3 separate regions of the Homo sapiens genome follow, and regions 2 and 3 are each linked to region 1. Evidence: promoter capture Hi-C in 16 types of primary human blood cells and fetal thymus (Javierre and others, 2016). All regions are on one chromosome and are shown on one strand. The core of a region is centred on a gene start or on the middle of the fragment in contact, and the rest is flanking DNA. Distances in the headings are between cores, read along the strand shown.

What was found. Contacts are between HindIII fragments. The CHiCAGO score rates a contact against its expected background, and 5 or more counts as called.
Region 2: a contact is called between a fragment that was not itself captured here and the fragment with the promoter of STC2 in region 1, in 1 of 17 cell types (endothelial precursors). The highest score is 7.9, in endothelial precursors.
Region 3: a fragment that was not itself captured here is called in contact with the fragment with the promoter of STC2 in region 1 in 1 of 17 cell types (endothelial precursors); the score reaches 5.6 in endothelial precursors.

What each region holds. Positions count from the first base shown.
Region 1 is chr5:173,326,041-173,330,362 of GRCh38, reverse strand. It overlaps STC2 (stanniocalcin 2), which reads left to right and starts at 1,949. Exons shown (of 4, transcript NM_003714.3): 1 at 1,949-2,320. The coding sequence starts at 2,170. LOC124901137 (a long non-coding RNA gene) reads right to left here and starts at 1,764. Exons shown (of 2, transcript XR_007059056.1): 1 at 612-1,764. RefSeq lists a silencer at 536-755. The HindIII fragment of the contact is 3,237 bases long and covers 381-3,617 here.
Region 2 is chr5:173,583,788-173,588,436 of GRCh38, reverse strand. It overlaps LINC02995 (long intergenic non-protein coding RNA 2995), which reads right to left. Exons shown (of 4, transcript NR_027108.2): 3 at 4,529-4,649; 4 at 3,369-4,327. Among named protein-coding and RNA genes, the nearest start is that of LINC02995, 6.5 kb to the right of the region's middle. The HindIII fragment of the contact is 7,137 bases long and covers 1-4,649 here.
Region 3 is chr5:172,977,467-172,982,349 of GRCh38, reverse strand. No RefSeq gene overlaps it. Among named protein-coding and RNA genes, the nearest start is that of ATP6V0E1, 3.9 kb to the left of the region's middle. The HindIII fragment of the contact is 4,602 bases long and covers 368-4,883 here.

The DNA.
Region 1 (4,322 bases), core at 700-3,199:
TTCCATAAACTAGGAAGCTAAGTTAACTATGCAAACACAAGCAGGGTGGGCAATGTGAACTGGCCGTTTTAATGTATTTGTACCCGCACGTCCTTGCACAAAAGATCCAAGGCTGCGCGGAGTAATTGCTATTAGAATAGTGGGCATGGTCCCTACCGCCGCAGGTTCGGACCTTCAAAGTGACAATTTATGGATGCTCCCTGGCGCTCCAGCGCAGGGGAAGCCCACTCTGAAGACGCCCTCCCCACCCCCTCCTCTCCTTCCTTCCGACTCAGGAGAGCTCGACACGCCGGATAGCTGCGGCCAGCCGTGGCCATCCTGGCCCCCCGCCTCCGCCTTCCCCACTCCCGCGTGCAGCCGGGACACGGGAAAGGAAAGCTTTGGAAGTCAAGCGCCGGCCAAAAGATGACCTGCCCGCGTGTCTCCTCGCCCCCTCCCCCAGCCGTGTCACATGGCGGCCCCAACCAGGCGGGCAGTGCGCCCCGCCGCGGAGACCCAGGGCCGCGTCGCCTGGGCAGTGGGTGATGAAACTTCCCAGGCGCATTACCGCAGAGGGCGCGGGCGGGGCGCGGGGCGGGGGTGGGGGATCGAGAGCTGGTACCGGGGCTCACCTGTTCTCCAGGAGGAGGGTGGGGACGGGGGGAGGGGCGAGTGCGCGCCAACGCCGGGTGCGTGCCCTGGGGCGCTTGGGCGCGGCGCTCGTGTCCCCGCCCTCCCCCAGCCCTGCGAGCCCCCCGAGCTGCGCCGTGGGGTGACGGGACCGAGAGCAGTTCCTGTCCCCGGCCCCGGCGCGGGGGAGACGTGAGCGTGCACACGTACACACACAGCAGGGGAAGAGGCGCTCCAAGCGGCGCCCAACTTTCTCCTTCCCTCCACGGGCCGGGTGAGAAAGTAGCCGGGGGCTATCCCGACCCGGCGGTTCTTGGGGAGGGGGCCGAACAAGAAAAGGGAGGAGATGGAGATAACTTCCCCGGATTTAGCTTTTTTGTCTTTGTTTTTGTTCTCACCACTTCCATCGGATGACTGGAGAGTAAAAGGGAACCCGGAGCGGGGTGGCGAGCAGCGCTTTGAGAAAATGCAGGAGTGTGTTTGGAGACGCGTAAAGTTGCCTTTCAAGCTCTGGCCTCCGGGCACGCGATGCTCCGCGGCGGGCTGACTCAGGGCTGCCTTGGGCCTCCCTGCCACCCTCCTGGAAATGATGCAAGTCCTGACTGTCACCTGGATCCCTGCAGCCCAGCCTGGAATGCGTCTGGATTAGGGGAAAGACGAGAAACGACACTCCAGGTGTTGCACGGCCCACCAAAGCGGGAAGATAGGGCAGTTGCTCAGACCAAATACTGTATCTAGTGCTTCTGCTCCTATCTTCAATCGTGGGGTTCTTTTTAATGCAAAGTGTCACAAGGCCAGGAATTCCCATGTGTGCTCAGTTGGCCCACAGCATCATTGTGCCTAGGAAACTGCTTCAATTTATCAAGTCCTCTGGGCTGGGAATCTCACTGAATTCCAAACGGCGGAAAGAGGAAACTTTCCCAACCCGATGTGGGTGTGACGCGAGCCAGGGGCCCCAGGGACACTGTCCCAGAGCACACCGTCCCCCTTTAACAGCAACTGGAGCTTGGATTCGCTCTTATATTGTACAGTCCTTTCGACCATTGCCCTGGAGCACCCGCACACGCGCACGCATCTCCGGCCGCGCTCACACACACTCATACACACGCACGCAAACGCGTGGCCGCCGCCAGGTCGGCAACTTTGTCCGGCGCTCCCAGCGGCGCTCGGCTTCCTCCTGTAGTAGTTGAGCGCAGGCCCCGCCTCCCGGCCGTGTTGTCAAAAGGGCCGGGGTCTCGGATTGGTCCAGCCGCCGGGACAACACCTGCTCGACTCCTTCATTCAAGTGACACCAGAGCTTCCAGGGATATTTGAGGCACCATCCCTGCCATTGCCGGGCACTCGCGGCGCTGCTAACGGCCTGGTCACATGCTCTCCGGAGAGCTACGGGAGGGCGCTGGGTAACCTCTATCCGAGCCGCGGCCGCGAGGAGGAGGGAAAAGGCGAGCAAAAAGGAAGAGTGGGAGGAGGAGGGGAAGCGGCGAAGGAGGAAGAGGAGGAGGAGGAAGAGGGGAGCACAAAGGATCCAGGTCTCCCGACGGGAGGTTAATACCAAGAACCATGTGTGCCGAGCGGCTGGGCCAGTTCATGACCCTGGCTTTGGTGTTGGCCACCTTTGACCCGGCGCGGGGGACCGACGCCACCAACCCACCCGAGGGTCCCCAAGACAGGAGCTCCCAGCAGAAAGGCCGCCTGTCCCTGCAGAATACAGGTAAGTGCATGTGCCCCCGCAGCCGGGAGCTACTGGGAGAGGACACCGTGCACCCACGCGGCGCGCCCCAGGCGTTTCGCCGGGAGCCAGGCGCCCACCCAGGGCCACGCAAACTCTTGGGATGGCACGGGACGTGCAAAGGGAAGCGCGAGGCAAGGCGAGGTCCGCGCCGGGCTCCGAGGGCCCGGAATCTGCACGTGCTAGCAGGGTGATGAAATGGCTGGGGCAGGACTTGTTGCTGTCCTCCCCAGGGTCGAGGGGAAATGAAGCAGCGTCTGACGCTGCCAGCGCCAGCCCCCGCCCCCGAATCCCGGGTCCGGTGCAAAGCGCGCTTCATCCCGGCCGGCACGCGGGAGGCCCAGAGGGTCCCCGGAGCTGGGCTGCGCCCTGCGCCCGGAGAACTTCTCTTCCTGGCCTGCCGGCCTCAGTAAGGGTGCCGCGTCTTCCCCCTCCTCAAAAGATGCCCGACATCCCAGAACTTTGCCGGCGAGACAAATGGCATTGCGAACTTTCCCCCTGGGGGCACTGCTTTCGGAAGGGAGCGTGAGGGCAGCGCAAAGCGTACCTCCGCGGTGCTGCCGCCATCCCCAGCTCCTGGCCAGGTCAGCAAGCCAAGAAATGGTGACACGACCCGAACCGTGCGCCTCCTCTGCTCTACCGGCTCTTGGCTCACCGGCAAGCTGCAAAGCAGAGCCAGGCGTGCAGGGCACGGGGCTGGCCCTTTTCCCAGCTCGGAAAGAGAAAGAAAATCTGCCTACAGCTCCTTCGCTCCACGACCCCTCCCCCGACTTTGGGGGGCCGTGTGAACGCGGCAGCGGCGGCGTGCGTGCGCTCACCGCACGAGCTGGAATGCACGAGTGCCCATTAGGGACGCCCCAAGTGAGTGAATGGCGGCCCTGTGCGGTCCTGCCCCGGCGGCGCGTGGGGTCTTACGGATCCTGTCGCCTCCACATGCTGGGGCCGGCACCCCCACCACCCCGAGACCCTCGCCCACCCTCCCCCTCCTCTGGCGCTTCCTCTGAGAACTGAACCTGATTCTCGGTGGTCGGTGACCCTCAACAATACACGCCCCTCATTCTCTGGCTAGATTTAATCTGATGCGGGTTATCTGCTCCGACCCCGCCCTTCTTCCAAAATATACTTTTCTGATGTAATTTTGTGGTTGATTTAAATCAGAGACTTGGGTAGTGGAAAGGGAGGGAAGAGGCTTTGCACGCTGCAGCCTGACAGTTAACTCCCTCCGTCTGCCCCTTCCGAGAGAGGACTGGGGGCCACATTCGGTGAAGGGCTGCAAGCTTCCTCCCGGGCTGCGGGAATTCTAGGGGATTGGGTGATACCTCACCCGGATCCCTAATTAAAAGGAGCCTGCAACCTCTGATAGTGGCGTTTCTGAAGGCTCGCCCCCAGCTGACTCCACTCCTAAGCCTGCTCGCCAACCGCAGCTTCCCTAGCTGGTATTTTAATGCGAAGGGTTGGGAGGCACTGCCTTAATAGGAATTTTGTTTTGATTTTTAGGTGTTGAATCATAAAGCTGAATTGAAACTGCTTTTTAGATGCTGTCATTTGGGGGTCAGGAAGCAAATGGCTGTGATTTAATAGCAGCAACTTCTACAGATCAAGTAGAGAAGGGTACTTCATTGATGAAGTACAGTCTTCGACTCAAAATTTTATTTTTGTCTGTGGGTTTAAAAAGCGGAAATATATTTTGCTCTCAAACTAAGTATTCCCACAAATACTTTAATAAAATGGAAAGGATGAAAAGGAGGAATGCTCAGACCAGCCTTCTGGTTGTAATTTTTGTAATTTTTCGGCTCTTTTCTACAAATATTTACAAATAGAGATATTTTTCATGAGTAGATTAAAGGACGAAATTTTGTTTCCCAGGCTTTTTAGGTCCTGAAATAGTCATTACTAAGTCTTTTTTCCTCCTTAAATTTTCCTTTAGTTGTTAACTTTTATTTCAAATGACCTCTCTGCATTGCCCAGCATGGGTTAGAGTTTT
Region 2 (4,649 bases), core at 1,723-4,222, 260 kb before region 1:
TTGGTACAATTGAGCAATGTGAGGGAGAATCTGTTCCATGCCGTTCTCCTTTATCTTCTGATGCTTTACTGGCAGTATTTGGTGTTCCTTGGCTTTTAGATGTATCAACCCAATCTCTGCCTTCATCTTTGCATAGTGTTCTCCCTGTGTGCATGTCTGTCTGTGTGTCTAAGTTTCCCCTTTCACCAGTTATACTGGATTAGAGCCCACTTTAATGATCTGGTCTTCACTTGATCAGCTGCAAAGATCCTATATCCAATAAGATCACCTTCATAGGTATACTAGGGGTTAAGACTAACTTCAACAAAATTTTGGAGATCACAGTTTAATCCATGGTACCATCTTAACAATATTAAGTCTTCCAATCCATGAACATGAGATGTCTTTCCATTTTTTTAGGTCTTGTTTAATTTCAATCAACAATGTTTTATAGCTTTCAGAGTATAAGTTTTGCACTTATTTTGTTAAGTATTTTCTTGGTGTTTTATTGTTTTTGATGCTATTATTGTAAATTGAGGTTTTTAAAATTTTGTTTTTCTTTTACGCATTACTGTTGTATCAAAATACAATGAATTTTTGTATATTAATCTTGTATCCTGCAACCTTGCTGAGCTCATTTATTAGTTCTAATAGTTTTCTAGTGCATTCCTTAGGTTTTTTTTAATCTGCAAGTATGGATAGCTTACTTCTATTCTGATGTGGATGCCTTTTATTTCCTTTTCTTTCCTATTAATTTTCTTTTGTCTTGATTTCTGTATCAAGACAATTTTCTTTTTCTTCATGTGGTACACATTTGTGTAAGCCATCCCAAATTATTTTTGGAACAAGATAGGATCTAAATTAACACACTTAAAAAATAGAACTTATGCTCTATTCATATAGTCTTTTTTCTCTCAACTAATTCAGAGGTATCGAATTTTGACAATAATTTTTTTCTGTGAAGAAATTTTAGGGAAAAAATTCCTGATGTTCTAGTAATTTAATTATCTACAAAAATGTTGATAGCAACCATTATTCTTCAAAATGCTGCTTTGGAAAAAGGATAATATATAAGTAGATTTCACCCTGGAAAAAAAACACTAAATATTTAAATATATATTATAATAGCATCATGTTATCATATTATCATTAAGAAGGCTACAGAAACTCCGAGTTCATGAAGTAGGTCTTTCTTGTGCTGTTCTCATGATGGTGAATAAGTCTCATGAGGTCTAATGGTTTTATAAAGAGGAGTTCCCCTGCACAAGCTCTCTCTCTTTGCCTGCCACCATCCACGTAAGATGTGAGTTGCTCCTCCATGCCTTCCACCATGATCGTGAGGCCTCCCCAGCCATGTAGAACTGTAAGCCCATTAAACCTCTTTCTTTTGTAAATTGCCCAGTCTCAGATATTCTTTATCTCAGTGTGAAAATGGACTAAGATAGTAAATTGGTACTAGTAAAGTGGGACACTGCTGAAAAGGTACCTGAAAATGTGGAAGCAACTTTAGAACTGGGTAACAGGCAGAGGTTGGAACAGTTTGGAGGGCTCAGAAGAAGAAACTAAAATATGGGAAAGTTTGGAACTTCCTAGAGACTTGTTGAATGGCTTCGACCAAAATGCTAATAATGATATGGACAATAAATCCAGGCTGAGGTGGTCTCAGATGGAGATCAGGAACTTATTGGGAACTGGAGCAAAGGTGATTCTTGTTATGTTTTAGCAAAGAGACTGGTGGCATTTTGCCCCTACCCTAGAGATTTGTGGAACTTTGAACTTGAGAGAGATGATTTAGGGTATCTGGCAGAAGAAACTTCTAAGCAGCAAAGCATTCAAGAGGTGACTTGGGTGCTGTTAAAGGCATTCAGTTTTAAAAGGGAAACAGAGCATAAAAGTTTGGAAAATTTACAGCCTGACAATGCAATATAAAATAAAATCCCATTTTTTGAGGAGAAATTAAAGTTGGCTGCAGAAATTTATTTGCATAAGTAACGAATGAGGACCCGAATGTTAATCGCCAAGACAATGAGGAAAATATTTCTAGGTCATGTCAGAGACCTTTGTGGCAGCCCTTCTCATCACAGGCCCAGAGGTTTAAGAGGAAAAAATGGTTTTGTGGGCCAGGTCCAGGGTCCCTCTGCTGTGTGCAGTCTAGGGACTTGATGCCCTGTGTCCCAGCTGCTCCAGCCATGACTAAAAGGGCCAAGGTACAGCTCAGCCTGTTGCTTCAGAGGGTGGAAGCCCCAAGCCTTGGCAGCTTCTATGTGGTGTTGTGCCTGTAGGTGCACAGAAGTCAAGAATTGAGGTTTGGGAACCTCTGCCTAGATTTCAGGGGATGCATGGAAATGCATGGATGTCCAGGTAGAAGTTTGCTGAAGGGGCGGGGCTCTTATGGAGCACCTCTGCTACAGCAGTGCAGAAGGGAAATGTGGGGTCAGAGCCCCCACACAGAGTCCCTACTGGGGCTCTGCCTAATGGAGTTGTGAGAAGAGGGCCATTGTCCTCCAGACCCCAGAATGGTAGATCTACCAACACCTTGCACCATACTCCTGGAAAGGCTGCAGGCACTCAACAGCCCATGAAAGCAGCCAGGAGGGAGGCTATACCCTGCAAAGCCACAGAAGCAAAGCTGCCCAAGACCATGGGAACCCACCTCTTGCATCAGCATGACCTGGATGTGAGACATGAAGTCAAAGGAGATCATTTTGGAACTGTAGGATTTGACTGCCCCACTGGATTTCAGACTTGCATGGAGTCTGTAGCCCCTTTGTTTTGGCCAATTTCTCCCATTTGAAATGGCTGTATTTACTCAATGCCTGTACCCCCATTGTAGCTAGGAAGTAACTAATTTTTTTTTTTTATTTTACAGGCTTATAGGTGGAAGGGACTTGCCTTTTCTCAGATGAGACTTTGGACTGTGGACTTTTGAGTTAATGCTGAAATGAGTTAAGACTTTGGGGGCCTGTTGGGATGGCATGATTGGTTTTGAAATGTGAGGACATGAGATTTGGGAAGGTCCAGGGGCAGAATGATATGGTTTGGCTGTGTCCCCACCCAACTCTCATCTTGAATTGTAATTCCCACAATTCCCACATGTCATGGGAGGGACCCAGTGGGAGTGAATTGAATCATGGGGGTGGGTCTTTCTTGTGCTGTTCTCATGATAGTGAGTAAGTCTCATGAGATCTGATGGTTTTATAAAGAGGAGTTCCCCTGCACAAGCTCTCTCTTTGCCTGCTGTCATCCTTGTAAGATGTGACTTGCTCCTCCCCACCTTCCACCATGATTGTGTGACCTCCCCAGCCATGTGGACTATAAGTCCATTAAACCTCTTTTTCTTCCCAGTCTCAGGTATGCCTTTATCAGCAGCATGAAAACAGGCTAATATATACCCCCAAAGTTAGATACTTTATCATATTACAGTTGTGTGGATTTGGATTTGCAGGACTCAGCTGGTTGATTCTCTTGATGAATGTGGTGCCAACGGAGGTCACTCCATGGTAATCAGCCTGTAGGTGTGCTGGGCTGGTCTAGAGATCCCAGGATGGCTTCACTTACATGTCTGGTGACATTGGCTGGTGGGGGCTGGCTGCAAGGCTGGGCTCAGCTAGGACCACAAACAGAGCTCCTGAACATGGTTTCAGCAACCTGGTGGTATTAGGGCAGTTGATTACATGGCAGCTTCAAGCTCCCAGAGAGTGTCCTAAGAGAGGTGAAGTGAACTGCCACCCTCTAAAAAGCCCAGGCCTGGAAACTGACAAGCACCACTTCTGCTGTATTCTGTTGGTCAAGTAGTCACAAGCCTGCCCAGGGCACCCCACCTCACCTCTCCATGCAGGGAGTGACAAGGAATTTGGGACCATCTTCAATCCACTACAGTCCCCATTCTCCACTTGCAGTCCGAATTCCCCCACAGGCAGCCTTTCTGTGTATCTGATGTGCGTCCTTGAATTTGAACATAGTGTCTAACGTAAGCTACCTAAATCTGTGTGGACATCCCCTTCCTTGCTTCTGACTGATAGATGCTTCTCCAAGGTGTACACCCACCACATTTACTTCTGTCTTCCCCAGGGATGGGTGCCTGAGTGGCCAACGCCCCTGCCAGAAACAATGCTGAATGAGCACCTCCCCACATGCCCCTTTTGGACAAAAAGTGTCTCTGCGCCGCATACCGAGGAGTGGCATTGCTGTGGGCAGAAGACTTACGCAGTCGACTTGAACCAGCACCATCAGACAGCCTCCGGAGTGGCTGCACCTTCTCATACTCCCTTGCAGAGAACAAGGGTTCCTCTTCCCCCCCTACTCCAGCTAACACTTGGCATTAGCTGACTTTCTAATTTTTGCTGACCTGATGAGTGTACAGAGTAAAGTTTCATGTTGAACTTTTAAAACAAAGGGGGAAAATACAGAGGGAAAAGAATAGGAAGGAAAGTGGTTAGGAGGGAAGGAAATGGCAGCTGGCTAAGTGGGAAGAATTGGGAAGTCAAGTTTTCTGGACTGCACAGTACCCTACAGAATCCTAGGGGCCATCAGAGCAGCTGCAGGTCACCTTGTGGAAAAGTGCAAAATACAGTTTAGACATTTGGAATTTGGCTTCCTGGCAGCCTGGCTGGAAGGTGTTGGTTCCACAGGGCCAAGGCTGGCTGTGCCTGCCTCCCTCTGGGTCCTGG
Region 3 (4,883 bases), core at 1,419-3,918, 350 kb after region 1:
GCAGTGGTGCTCCATAGCTCACTGCTGCCTGGAACTCCCGGGCTCAAGCCATCCTTCTGCCTCAGCCTCCTGAGGAGCTGGGACTACAGGTGTGCACCACCACACCAGCTAATTTTTAAAATGTTTTGTAGAGACAGAGCCTCGCTATGTTGCCCCGGTGGGTCTTAAACTCCTGGCCTGAAGGGATCCTCCACCTCAGCCTCCCAAAGTGCCGGGATTACTGGCATAAGCCACCGTGCTGAGCTGATAAACAGGGCTTAGAACGCTTGCTGAGAATTTTCACATATGTTAGTTATAGTATGCGCCAAGCTTGGAATAGACAAGGAAGCCAGTTCTCAGAGAGGTTGAGGAGCTTGATGATAAAGCTTACAGGTGAAAGCAAGATAGAAAGCAGGTCTTTAAATGCAATGTGCTTTACCAGGGACCATGGTTTCCTTGCAGTAGCCACATTGCATTAACTCCTGATTTCTTTCATCAAGTAGAATGGATTCCTGTATTAAACGGGAAACTGGACCAATAATCTTCAACATCTGTACCAACTTTTCGGACATGATTCTAAGCCTTTAACCTGATCAGCAATGTAGAAAACTAGTTTGTCTCCTTTGTGCTCATAATGCTTCCCCAAAACTTAGCCCCAGCAGAAATCCTATGGTCCTTAAGTTCTAGCCCAAACACCGCCTTCTCCAAGACCCATTTCATCCTGTTAGCGCATCTCTTTGGCCTTGTTGTATATGTATCTTGACCAACCCTCTACTAGAGGGCCAACTCCTTGAGAATAGGCACTGTTTCACTGATCTTTGTTTCCGGGAGGACTTTATACATAGAATGTGCTCAATAAATAACTGTGCAACTGAATTGAGTAGCTAAGAAGGGATGAGGTCAGAACAAAATTAGAGAAAGAAGTTCATTTCTACTTTCTCCTTCCTTCCTTCCTTCCTTCCTTCCTTCCTTCCTTCCTTCCTTCCTCTCTCTTTCTTTCTTTCTTTTTTCTTTTTTTGATGGAATCTCACTCTGTTGCCCAGGCTGGAGTGCAGTAGCATGACAATGGCTCGCTGCAACCTCCACCTCCCTGGTTCAAGCGATTCTCCTGCTGCAGCCTCCTGAGTAGCTGGGATTTACCAGCGCCCTCCACCACACCAGGCTATTTTTTTTTTTTTGTATTTTTAGGAGAGATGGGGTTTCACCATGTTGGCCAGGCTGGTCTCAAACTCCTGACCTCAAGTGATCCGCCCACCTCGGCCTCCCAAAGTGCTGGGATAATAGGAGTGAGCCACCATGCCCAGCCCCTTTCTTTCTTTTTTTTGAGGCAGAGTCGTGCTCTGTCACCCAGGCTGGCATATGGTGGTACAATCATAGCTTACTACTGCCTTGAACTCCTGGGCTCAAGGGATCTTCCCACCTCGGCCTCCATAGTAGCTAGGACTACAGGCGCATGCCACTATGCTGGCCTAATTGTGTGTGTGCGTGTGTGTGCTTGTGTATGTGTGTGTGTGTGTGTGTGTGTATGTGTGTGTAGAGATGGGGTTTCACCATGTTGCCCAGGCTGGTCTCGAACTCCGGCCTCAAGGAATCCTCCTGCCTTGGCCTCCCAAAATGCTAGGATTACAGGTATGAGCTGCCGCAGTCAGGCCCTTTCCTTTTAAAAATGGTAAAATACAGGTAACATAAAAGTTACTATCTTAACCTTTTAATTTATTTTTATTAATTTATTTAGAGACAGGGTCTCGCTGTCATCCAGGTTGGTGTGGTCTTGGCTCACTGCAACCTTCGCCTCCTGGGTTCAAACGATTCTCCTGCCTCAGCCTCCCAAGTAGCTGGGACTACAAGCATGCACCACCACACCCAGCTAATTTTTGTATTTTTAGTTGGAGACGGGGTTTTACCATGTTGCCCAGGCTGGTCTCAAACTCCTGACCTCAGGAGATTTGCCCGCCTTGGCATCCCAAAGTGCTGGGATTACAGGCGTGAGCCACTGCACCCAGCCCAGAACTTTTTCATATCCCTTCAACAACCACTTCTGGCCAGGTGCAGTAGTGAGACCCCCATCTCTACAAAAAATTTAAACAAAAAATTAGCTGGGCATGATGGTGCATGCCTGTAGTTCCAGCTGCTGCGGAGGGTGAGGTGGGAGGATTGCTTGAGCCCAGGAGGTAAAGGCTGCAGTAAGCTGTGATCACGCCACTGCACTCCAGCCTGGTGATAAAGCAAGACTCTGTCTCAAAAAACAAACAAACAAAAAAACAACCACCTCCCATATTCCACCCCCTAGCCCATGGCAAGCACCATTCTACTTTCTGTCTCTGTGAGTTTGACTACTCTAGATTCCTTCAAGAGGAATCATACGGCATTTGTCCTTTTGTGGCTGGCTTATTCACTTAACATAATATCCTCAAGACTCATCCATGTTGTGCAAGTGTCAGAATGTCCCCTTCCTTTTAAAGGCTGAATAATATTCCATGTGTGTATACAGTACGTTTTGTTTATCCATTCATCCATCGATGGACATTTGGGTTGCTTGCACTTTTTGGCTATTGTGAATTCTTTCCCATTTCTTAAACAAGTGGAAATTTTTGTCTTAAATTGATCCCTTTTTGTGTCTAACCTTTGCTTTATCTTCTGGGCAGCCTCTTTGAGAAGCAATGTCTGGAAGTACAAGGATGTAACTCTTTTTTTTTTTTTTCCTTTTTTTTTGAGACAGAGTTTTGCTCTTGTTGCCCAAGCTGGAGTGCAATGGCACGATCCCAGCTCACTGCAACCTCCGCCTCCTGAGTTCAAGTGATTCTTCTGCCTCAGCCTTCTGAGTAGCTGGGATTACAGGCACGTGCTACATGCCCAGCTAATTTTTATTTTTATTTTTATTTTTTAGTAGAGATGGGGTTTTGCCATGTTGGCCAGGCTGGTCTCGAACTCCTGACCTCAGGTGATCCACCTGCCTCGGCTTCCCAAAGTGCTGGGATTACAGGGGTCAGCCACCGCACCCGGCCAGGGATGTAACTCTGTTGTTGTTGTTGTTGTTTTTTGAGATGGAGTCTCGCTCTGTCTCCCAGGCTGGAGTGCAGTGGCGTGATCTCGGCTCACTGCAACCTCTGCCTCCCGGGTTCATGCCATTCTCCTGCCTCAGCCTCCCGAGTAGCTGGGACTACAGGCAGCCACCACCACGCCCGGCTAATTTTTTGTATTTTTAGTAGAGACGGGGTTTCACCGTGTTAGCCAGGATGGTCTCGATTTCCTGACCTTGTGATCCGCCCGCCTCGGCCTCCCAAAGTGCTGGGATTACAGGCGTGAGCCACCGCGCCCGGCTGGATGTAACTCTTTAGACACCAATTCTGTCTAAATCTGTTGGTTTCATCTGTGAAAGGAGAAAAGTTAGTATCTCAGTATTATATATGTGGGCTAGCATTAGCCTATAGCTCCCTCTATCAGCCAGTCTGTCAAAAGCATTTTATCACACACCAAATGAAAACTGTCCCCATTCAGTGACCCATCAAATGAAGAGATACTGTCTGCCCTCAAGGTGCTAAAGTCTTCAGGAAACAAATCAGACTCTGGACAGTGTGGTCCAAGGACCCTTGGGGAGTCCCTGAGACTCCCCAAGCAGGTCTTTTTCTTTCTTTCTTTCTTTTCTTTCTTTTCTTTCTTTTCTTTCTTTTCTTTCTTTTCTTTCTTTTCTTTCTTTTCTTTCCTTTCTTTCCTTTCTTTCCTTTCTTTCTTTCTTTCTTTCTTTCTTTCTTTCTTTCTTTCTTTCTTTCTTTCTTTCTTTCTTTCTTTCTTTCAGATGGAGTCTTACTCTGTCACCCAGGCTAGAGTGCAGTGGCGTGATCTCGGCTCATTGCAACCTCCATTTCCTGGGTTCAAGCAATTCTCCTGCCTCAGCCTCCCATGTAACTGGGATTACAGGCGACTGCCACTGCTCCCAGCTAATTTTTGTATTTGTAGTGGAGGTGGGGTTTTACCATCTTGGCCAGGCTGGTCTCAAACTCCTAACCTCGTGATCCACCCACCTTGGCTTCCCAAAGTGCTGGGATTACAGGCATGAGCCACCATGCCTGGCCACCCCAGCAGGTCTTTTCTAACTGTGAATCTCTGTAAGGCTGAATTTTCTTCCTGTAGTTCATCTAAAACAACATATCACATCAGATTGAATGCAGTAGTATTATGAGAATGCATTTGTCTTCTATTAAACCAGAGGTCAAGGCGTTCTCCCAAAATGTAACACAATGTTACTCTTCCAACCACATGTTTTGTTAGTTTTGGAAAAAACAGCTATTTCTCATATAAATGTTATGTTAACATGTTATGGGTTTCTTGTTGCTCTTTTTGTATGAATTTAAAATAAATATGTTGGCCAGATGCAGTGACTCGCGCCTATAATCCCAGTGCTTTGGGAGGCTAAAGCAGGAGGATCACTTGAGGCCAGGAGTTCCAGAGCAGCCTCGGCAACATAGTGAGACCTCCATCTCTACAAGAAACAATTTTGATGTGGTGTTATCTCCTGTAGTCCTAGCTACTTAGGAGGCTGAAGAGGGAGGATTGCTTGAACCCACAAGTTCAAGGTTACAGTGAGCTATAATTGCACCATTGCACTACAGCCTGGGTGAAGACTGAGATCTTGTCTCAAATAATAATAATAATAATATAATAAAATTAATATGTTAAAATTTGAAGTTTTAATTTCTAACATGACAAATATCAATAGCTATAACCTATATAAATGTAAGTCCCTTGGGTCCTCCATAGTTTTTAAATATGTAAACAGGTCTTGAGACCAAAAAGTTTGAGAAGCACCACTAGAGGAAAAACCTCAGAGGCCCCCCAGCAGCATCAAGGAAACAAGAGTTGACTGAAACACTATTGTGCAACGAGCTGAGGAGCCCTTCTTTCCT